Linked DNA regions of Homo sapiens: region 2 is linked to region 1. Evidence: promoter capture Hi-C in 16 types of primary human blood cells and fetal thymus (Javierre and others, 2016). All regions are on one chromosome and are shown on one strand. Each heading gives the region's core, a stretch centred on a gene start or on the middle of the fragment in contact. The rest is flanking DNA. Distances are from core to core; before and after follow the strand shown.

Region 1 (5,157 bases), core at 1,050-3,549:
CAGAGACAGGTTTTGCAGTGACTTGAAATGCTCAGGTCTTCTATTGAGGGCCAGCCCCCAATTCCTTCTATTACTGTAGCCCATTGATATGGAAAAATCCGCCAGTATTGGTCACTATAATAATTTATACATTGTCCCAAAGAAGTTATTATTGTTATAAAATGTTTATTTTTCATTTTTGCTATGTGTACTTATCCATTTAAGATGCATTCTCTAATTTGTTTTAAGAGAACAATTAAATACAATATTGTAACAACGAGACAACTTTTTTCTTCTGGAGAGCCCACAACCGTCCCACAGACATGATATTTTCTTCAAAGGACTGATATAATTATTCAATTAGATAACAAATGGCATATAGTATGTGTTCAGTAAAATTTAATCTCCTTCAATAATTAGTTAACATAAACTGTTAATTTATATCTGCTTTTACTTAGCATATGATTGAAAAAATAAAATCAGGAATGCAAGTCTAGGAACACAGAATAAACACTCAACCCATGACCTTTCTTTATTTTATTGTATTTATCCTTTTTTTTTTTTTTTTTTTTTTTGAGACAGAGTCTCGCTCTATTGGCCAGGCTGGAGTGCAGTGGTGTAATCTTGGTTCACTGCAACCTCTGCCTCCCGGGTTCAAGCGAATTCCTGCCTCAGCCTCCCAAGTAGTTGGGATTACAGTTGCCTGCGACCACACCCTGCTATTTTTTTTATTTTTAGTAGAGATGGGATCTCACCATGTTGGCCAGGCTGGTCTCGAACTCCTGACCTCAAGTGATTTGCCCACCTTGGCCTCCCAAAGTGTTTGCTGTGTTTTCCTAGGGCCTAAGGTTTTTGCTGCCACTGACAAGGGTCAGGAAGGAGGTATACTCTGATTTAGGGGCAATAAGTCCTAGGGTGAGAGCAGTAAAACTGGAGTCAGAAAAGCCAAATCCAGTCCTCAGCATTTATTACTAACTCTATGACCTCTTCGAATCATTTAAATTCTCTGTTCTTGTTTTCTCTTGTAAAACAGGAAAAGAAAAAAGATGCATTCTGCTTTGTTTGCAGGCATGAGCTAAACAAGCATGTTTAGTTCTTACGGGTATTTCTGTCATTTTCTCACTCTTTGACAAACCTATCTGATCTTTGACAAACCCACTCTCATTATTCCATAAGAAAGTGGTGTTAAAGGCTTATGTTTCTTCCAATTTGTGATTACCAAGAGGCACTTAAGAACTCCAGGATTTCCATTTGTATAAAATCTAGCACATTATCAGTAAAACATCTTGACATTTATTTTAAATAGATTATTTATCTGCTATGAACCATGTGACATGCTTCTTGTTATGTGATAGTAACTCCATTATTTAGACATTTTAAAATTCCATTCAAGAAACAGTTGTATCCATGGACCAGCCATTCAAAGAGTAATTTTTCTTTAATCATTGATCTTCCAAATTCAACTTTACTCCTCTCTCCTTTAAGTCACCTGAATTACATCGTCACATTGTTCAGTGTTTGTGTGAATGTGTATGCATGTGTGTATGTGGTGGTGGTGGAGGTCCCTTTCTTCAGTATTCCCTCATTTCCTACTTTGGGCCTTTTTGGAAATGTTATTAAAAATTTTGATTATAGAATGGTACTTCATATTCACAGCATGATGCATTCATCAACATAAATCTAGCCAAAGCATTTCATTTGTGGATTTATACACCTGAAGCATTAAAATAAGAAATGTTAATTTCTTGCAGACTACTACCAGATGATTTTAAATATCTGCTAAGCAGGAATGTCTGTTCCCATGTGGGGAATTTCCATAATAAAATCCTGGCACCCTCGCTGAAGAGTACAGTTTTATAGAAACAGAGAAAAACAACAGCAAGTATTTTCCCTGAGGACGGTTTTAGCTACAATTTCCCAATGCTGCTTAGTTATTTCTGTCTTATTTTATGCTTTTGTTTTGAAACATAATGCAATTTTACCTGGATGCACTCCCGGATAATCAGGAATGGCTCAGTGTGTTTTCTGGCTCTTGCAAATGCAAGACCTCCAGAAAATCAGAAGGCTCCACCGCCTTGTCCCTTCCCCCACTCACACCTCCAGCTGGGAGAAAAGGGTTAAGGATTATTGGAAAATAGAAGAGAAGGGAGGGAGCCCCAAGGAGGCCCACGAACGGGAGGCCGCGCCTCTGGGTGCAGCGGAGCTCGAGCGCTGTTGTGTGTTTGGAAGGAAGGATGCTGCTGCCAATTTGTGGGACCGCTGCTGCGAGGAGTGGGCGTGGCCTCGGCGGTGTGGATGCTTGTTAGGAAAGATGCTGAGTGCTTTTCAGTGAGGAGTCAGGGAGGTGTGTGTGAGAGAGAGAGAGAAAAGAGAGAGACAGAGACGGGGAGAGAGAGAGGGAGAGAGAAGAGAGGGAGGAGGGAAGAAGAAAAGACGGAGGGAGGTGAGGAGGAAGGGAGGGGGAGAGACAGAGACCTAGAGGGGCTGAAGACCCAGACAGAGCTGGCAGAGCTACTGAGAAGAGGACTGGAGCGCTCTGAGAGCCTCTCAAGATCTTTTGGGGGAGCCCAATAAATGTGAACATGGGATCTGTCACGGGAGCTGTCCTCAAGACGCTACTTCTGTTATCTACTCAAAATTGGAACAGAGTCGAAGCTGGGAATTCCTGTAAGTATACAGCAAATGATTTAAAACTTGCTGGGGGGCTCTCTGCAAAACTTTGATTCTGTTGGTTTGATGATGATTATTTGCAGCTGGGATTGCTGCAAAGCGTATTGCTGTAAACCAAGCATCACTTAAAAATCTTGCCAATGTGACCGGTTAACACTTGTCTCTCCTCTTGGTCTGGTCAAAATAGGCAAAGTGTCATTTCTCTTTTTGTCTACTCGCAGAATCTTACCCTCTGGTCTTTGAGTATTCATTGAGAATGCCCAAGTTCTAGTAAAACATGAAATTAGCATCTTATCGGGGGAATAGCCTGTGAATATCTTCATTTCTTCTTTTTTAAAGAACTACTGAATTTTATTGGAATTATGTCTAAGAGGAAAACAACTGGCAGACTTTACATTATGCTGCATTGGCTTAGATTTCTGAAGTTTGCAATTGGGCAGACCAGTAGCTGCCTGCATCTTTAAAATAATGCAGGCTAATAACTGAAATGTACTGCAGGCTTCAGGAGCACCAGCACTGGCTGAGGCGAGTCTCAGTATTAAGAGCTGTGCCCTCGCTGCTAAGAGAATGAGACTTAGCGCTCTCCGGAAAGAGGAGCCTCTTCCTACATTTCGCTTAAAGGAAAACCAGTCAGGTGGTCTTTCAAAAGTAGGATTCCTTTGTGGTTGAATGCTTAACTGCATAAATTTGTAATTGAATGTTCTGATGAAATAGAACCTATTTAGGGAAGATTGAAATCTTATTTATAATTTAGATATCATCCATAATAATTTGGCAGACTCCCTTCATCCACTCTTTATTAGAGATAGAAAAAGTTTTAAAAGTTATCTTTGGCTTAAATTCTCTAAATGGGAGAATTTTCCCCTCCTGATTAATGACAAACAAGCTTGGCAAATACAACTTTTTATTTTTTCTTGGATTTTAAAGGAAAAGCTCATTTGCTTTCCAAGAACTGGCTATGAGGCCTGTCCAGGAATTTATGTTGCTGCTGTATCATCAGGCTTAGATTTGGGGAACAGAGGCAGTAATCAGACATTTGCTATGGCATATCACTTGACTATGTTAAGAGTTCTGATATGTGAAAAACATGACAAACTCATGGGCACAAGTCAAATGTCCCCTCACAGTACCTGGCTCCCGTGATTTCGTGTTTCAGTTCAGAATGGGCTCATTTAATGTCACAGGGTATCCATCACTCTGAAAGAAGGAACCTCACTTCAGGTGCTGCACATCAGATTCAACTTTAGTTTGAGTGTTGTGATAATCTCATAAGTCAATAAAATGTATAATTTCACCTAGTCAAAACCTTGGAATCTTATAATGGTAGCATTAGAAAAACATTGCATCATACAAGCAAACAATAACAACAACACCCACACACAAATGGAAGTTCTGTAGAAAAGGCATAAGTAATTCATCTTCCAACCACTAAAGTTCAACCAAAAAGAAAAGCACTAGAGGTCACTCTTACAATGTAAAGCACATCACCCCAAGCATCCTTCCCTCAAGAAAAGCAGAGCTTAAATCTGGCCTGTACTCCATTCAGTCTTTCCACTAGACTGCCTGTAGTTGGGTTTAAAATACATTAATCTAATTATTTGGGCTGCTAGTTGTTTATGTTTGCTTGTTTTCTTGAAGCTCAATAAAAAGTGTAGGGTGTACATCAACATTAAATAGCTTTCTTTTGCCATATATCTTCTTAGAAAAGAAAAGGTGCTGAAAGAGATCTGAGGAGAGTGTAATATTTATGTCTGCTTGGCTCTGGTTGGATCCCTCACTGACACTTAAAATTTCAGTGCTGGTTCTATATTCTTTCAGCCTTGGTTTGTTAAGGAAGTAGTCTAATGCTCTTTTAAACATCTGATGAACTTGCAAAACCTATACGATTTTTCATTATAAAAAACATTTAAAGTTGGAGTTCTTGCTTACCATGCATGTGGAGTTGACTGTTCTTCAAGTGTCAAAAATAAAATGAAATGACCTTATATAATTAAAGTTGCACTCAGTAATTTATTGTGAATATTTTGACAATATGATTTGCAGCAGTATGTGTAAAAGAAAATATTTCATTTCTCAATTTCTATTTCATTTTTCAATATTTAAGAAGTATTTTCTTTTTGGAAGAAGTAAGGTCTACTTGTACCAAGCCATGGTGGAAAGTACTTCATATGTTTCATCCTTTTTGGAAGGACAAGTGTATATATATTTCCCAGCAAGACTGGAATTTAGTGTAAGGACAAGCAACTATCAACCAGCATATGCATTTCTAAAGTATTATAATGACTCCAATAATTCTTCTGGACAAGACTTTATATTAAGAAAAAGTGAGTCAGTCTTGACTACCAATAGTAATATTGGAAATAACTGAATATAAATAAATAAAATTAAAGGACTAGAAAGACTTTTCCCCTTTATTTACAGCTGATGAGCCAGGAGCAAATCTGTCATCTACAGAGTCAGCCCAAGGTTGCCAGTTTGAAAGCTTTCATGGGACAGAACTCTGCAAAA
Region 2 (5,116 bases), core at 2,136-4,635, 900 kb after region 1:
TAATGGACAGTAATCTATTTGATGGGGTTTATTTAAATCGCAATTTTCTATTCTCCGTGCCACAGAAATGGCTTAAGTCCTCCCAAGCTTTTATTCGAAGGACTGACATATTCTCATTAGCATCCCACCTGCTTCTAAAATCTCTTTCCTTTCATCGTTATTCCATCCAAAAATCAGGAGAGAATAATCTTTTTCATTCTTCTTTTTAATTGACAAATAAAAATTATATATATTGATGGTGTCCAACATGCTGTTTTGATATATGTATAGATATTGTGAAATGGCTAAATCAAGCTAATTAAATATGCATTACCTTCACATACTTAACATTTCTTTTTTTTTTTTTTTTTGCAATACAAACACTTAAAATCTACTCTCTTAGCAATTTTCAAGTTTGCCATACTTCTACCCAAAGATTCCACTGGCTTCCTGCCACCATCCTTCAGTCTAAAACTGTATCATGCTGTTCCTGGCATTCTTTGATCAGGGCCTATGAGAGAAATTTATTTCCTGCTTCCTGGGCATTCAGATTCCCAGCAGCTGCAACAACCTGAACTTCCTTTGGACAATTACTCCTTATGATGACTTGAGTGATCTTGGCCTCACTTTCAAGCCCAGGGTGAACCTTCATTGCCTTGGCCCATTCTAAATGAATCATTTCCTGGCCATAGTGATTGGTTCTGGCATGGACACATATCTAACCAGAGTCAATGAGATTTCCACTGAGACTTCTGAGAAATAGATTCTCTCCCATCCCTTCTGGACTTAAAGCAAGACATATGTAGCCACAGAAGCAGCTAGAGCCCTCTTGAGACCTGGAGGGAGAAACTGCTAGAAAATGGAGTATACATCAAGGAAGAAGAGGAAGGAATGAAGAAAGAAACTGAATCTTGGCCACATCATTGGAGCCCTGGATCAACCCTCACCTGAAGATTGCCCTCACCTTCTTTTCAACTCACCAATGAAGTGTTTTCATTGTTTAAGGCAGTTCAAGTTGGGTTTTCTGCAATTTAAAATAATAATAATACTAATAAAATCTATAGCTCATGTGGGTTCCAAGCAACCTTTCCATGTGTTTCACCTTAGTTTTCATAGATGCTTTTCTTCCAGTTTTGCCAAACTAATGGAGAATACTCAGGCAGAAGAGACAGTGTGGTTTACTCTAAGAACTCATCCAAGTTCTGAGAGTACTGAGTTGATCATTAATAATTGGACCTAGGTATGTGGGAGAAGGCAGAGACAAGGGTGACCCCAAGGTGAGGGACATAAGTCACTGTGGGACTAACTTCTGGTAACATTAAGAGAAGAAACAAGTTTGGGAAAAGGAGATGAGTTTCCATTTGGAACAACTTGAATTTAAGTAGACTTATCCTTTTGAGCTGCAAACGTTGACCTGTCTGCATCCTCCAGAAAACTGGAAGTTTGTTAAGGGCAGGGACTGTGGGCTCTAAATCTTCAATCATCTCCCACAGGACCCCAATAAATATGTATTCTAATAATAAGAAAATAAAATCAATGAAATATAAGTTACCCAAAAATAATTAGAGAACAGTGAAGTCCCAGTCTCCTCTTTGGGCCTGATGATTACGTCTGTCAAATGTTCAGAAAAATTCTGAGATGCCTGCTGGAGAGAACGAGTTCTGTCAGTAGAGGAGGCAGCATTGAAGCTGTACTTGTAATATTTATTTGGAAGGAGAGGAGTACCCCATCCCGGAGGAAGGGCTTGAGCAAAGGCACTCCTGCTCCCTATCTGACTGGGGAATACCACTTGTAGGGTACAGAATCATACCATTATTTCAGAAAACTGAGGAGAGAGCTGGAGTAATACTACCAGTAAGAGATCCCACTTCACCTGACAATGACCCATCAGAGTGGTCAGAGAATCAGAGGCTACACAGAAGGGACTGTGCTTGGAGAAATAGGTCACAGATAATTAAACAAAAGAAGAATTTTTGTTTGTTTGTCTTTGAGACGGAGTTTTGCTCTTACGCCCAGGCTGGAGTGCAGTGGCCAGCGATCTCAGCTCACTGCAAACTCTGCCTGCTGGTTTCAAGCAATTCTCCTTCCTCAGCCTCCCGAGTAGCTGCGATTACAGGAGTCCACCACCACGCCCAGGTAATTTTCATATTTTTAGTAGAGACGGGGTTTCACCATGTTGGCCAGGCTGGTCTCGAACTCTTGACCTCCTGATCCACCGACTTGGCCTCCCAAAGTGCTGGGATTACAGGCGTGAGCCACCACACCCGACCAAAGAGGACTCTCTTTAATAATGCCCGTTTTTGTAGGAGTAAGATGGAATCTCATTGTGGTTTTAATTTGCATTTCCCTGATGATTAGTGATATTGAGCATTTTTTATATGATTTTTGGCCATTTGTATGTCTTCTTGAGAAATGTCTATGGTGGGAACGTAAATTAGTCCAACGTCTATGGAAAACAGTATGGAGATTACTTAAATAACTAAAAGTAGGTCTACCATCCAATCCAGAAATCCCACTACCCAAAGGAAAAGAAGCCATATAAAAAAAAGACACATGCACTCATATGTTTATTGTAGCACAATCCACAGCTGCAAAGATGTGGAACCAACCTAAGTGCCCATTGGCCCATGAGTGGATAAAGAAAATATGGCATATATACATCATAGAATACTACTCAGCCCTAAAAAGGAATGAAATAATGTCTTTTCCAGCAACTCGAATGGAGCTGGAGGCCATTATTCTAAGTGAAGAAACTCAGGAATGGAAAATCAAATACCATATGTTCTCACTTATAAGTGGGAGCTAAGCTATGAAGATGCAAAGGCATGCAGAGTGATTTAATGGACTTTGGAGACTCGGAAGAAGGTGGGAGAGGGATGTAGGATAAAAAACTACATAGTAGATAGAACAAGCACTACTCGGATGATGGGTGCACTAAAATCTCAGAACTCGCCACTGTATAATTCATCCACTTAACCAAAAACCATTTGGGGGCCAAAAGCTATCGAAATAAGATATATGTGATATCATATATATATGTTAAAATATTTTTTAAAAAGAAGATTCTAAACAGCAACTTTCTACCTCCTTCAGCTGACTCAGGAGACCATTAAGTGTGTCTCTATTGAAATCCAAAGAAGGAGAAATGAGGCAGATAGTGCTGATGCTATGGGCTTCTTTTTTCTGATTACATACAAGATGGAGTGAAGGAAGAAGTGACTTTGACCCATTCCGATAAACAAATCCAGAAGTCAATTGCATTGGTTTGTTGTCTTAATGATAAAGGAATTTTCCAGGGGGAAAGTTATAAGGAAAATATCTATTTAAAGAGGAAAAGTCTAACACCCATAATTGTTTCAAATTTAAGAAAAAAAAATCTTCAAAAGGAAAGCATTACTTCTAAGCTACGCGTTCCATATGCATTTTAAAAAGAAAATATGGGACAACCTAAAGCAGCTTTCTGTCAGCTATTGGAAATTTGCATGAGAATGATCAAAAAGGCCCTCTTCCCTCTCTCTGAGATGTATAAAGTCGTATCAGTCTCTTCTCAAAAGGCTTTCTGAGTAGGCAGTTACTCCTCTATCAAAACTGTTTACACTTGCAGGCAATATAACTCTCATGGCTGGTTTTATGAATTTCTTAGCCGTCTGAAAGGAAGTAGTTTGAAACATTAGAAAACCTATTCAAATCTTATTTTGCTGGCAGCAGGTAACTTGGAAATGGTTTTGTGCTCCTTCTTCTTTCCTAATTCTTTGAAGAGTGATGATACTGACGGGCTTCATTACTTCCACAGGGAAACAGATCTGGAGACCTGTGAAGACAAAGTTACTCACCCGTCATGTGAGGGTGTCATACACATGCTAGGTGTCATACAACACCTAGCATGATGAATGCTGCAATTTACACCGTCTAAGTTTTTGGTGGCCAGATGAGATTTATCCAAAAGAATACTGAGATAATTGTGGCCTGGAAATTGCTCATGTTTTTGCATTTTAATAGGAACACTGTAAGGGAGAGCTAAAGTGGGGAGGAATAGTAGATAAGGCGTGGGATTGGGTGGCATGAAATCTCACATGCGAATTCAAGTTTGACTTGGCTAAATAATTTAAACTTTCTAAACATCTGTGTACTTCAACTCTAAAATGGGTTGGCTATATCCATTCCAAAGGGTTGTTCTGGAGATGAAACAAGATAATGTATCTATATGTAATATATGTACATATTATATAAGATAATGTATATATGTAATATATACATAATATATAACATAATGTATATATATCAGACATTCTCTCTATATTACACAATATTGGTTCGATGGATTGATGGTGGTGGTGGTGGCAGTGGTGTTATTATTCTTACTATCCTTTAAGTATCCAATGAAAGAAAACATTTAAGTGAGTTAGTCAATTCTGAATTATCCATGATGATGGCAAAGGGTTAGAGTAGGAATTAATGTCATAGACAAGTAACATTATTCAAACATTATTGAAAACCAGCATTGTTTAATGTAGGATTTAATTATTGTTATGTTATTTAAAGTTAATGTATACTCATTTTCAAATATGTTTTAACATATAAAAAGCTGTTCATTTTTAAGTATACAACTTGATGAGTTTGGGGATAAGTATATACCCATAAAACTCTCACCACTACCAAGGCACAAATATATCCATCACCTCCCAAAATTTCCTCCTGTCTTCTTTATTATTATTATTTTTGGTGGTAAGAACACAACACCTACCCTTTTAGCAAATTTTAAGCATACAATACAATATTGTTAGCTGTAGGTTTTATCGTGTATAGCAGCTCACCAGAACTTACCTTGTGTAAATAAAACCTTGTAGGCATTAACCACTCCCTCTCCAACTACCCCTCACCTCAACTTCTAGCAACCACCATTCTACTCTCTGCTTCAGGGTTTCGCTATTTTAAATTTCACATGTAAGTGAGATCATACAGTATTTGGTGTTCACTGGGCAGAATGCCCTCCAGATCCATTCATGTTGTCACCGATGGCAGAATTTTATTCTTTTTTAAAGATGGATAATATTGCATTGTAGGTATGCACCATGTTTTTTTAATTCACTCATCCATCAGTGAATATTTTGGTTGTTTCTTTTTCTTGGCTATTGTG

Evidence for each region. The method cuts DNA at HindIII sites, captures the fragments that hold promoters and counts their contacts. A CHiCAGO score of 5 or more calls a contact.
Region 2: a contact is called between a fragment that was not itself captured here and the fragment with the promoter of CNTNAP4 in region 1, in 1 of 17 cell types (megakaryocytes). The highest score is 5.5, in megakaryocytes.

What each region holds. Positions count from the first base shown.
Region 1 is chr16:76,275,102-76,280,258 of GRCh38, forward strand. CNTNAP4 (contactin associated protein family member 4) reads left to right here and starts at 2,300. Exons shown (of 24, transcript NM_033401.5): 1 at 2,300-2,646. The coding sequence starts at 2,562. The HindIII fragment of the contact is 3,956 bases long and covers 1-3,533 here.
Region 2 is chr16:77,172,609-77,177,724 of GRCh38, forward strand. No RefSeq gene overlaps it. Among named protein-coding and RNA genes, the nearest start is that of MON1B, 16 kb to the right of the region's middle. The HindIII fragment of the contact is 6,600 bases long and covers 86-5,116 here.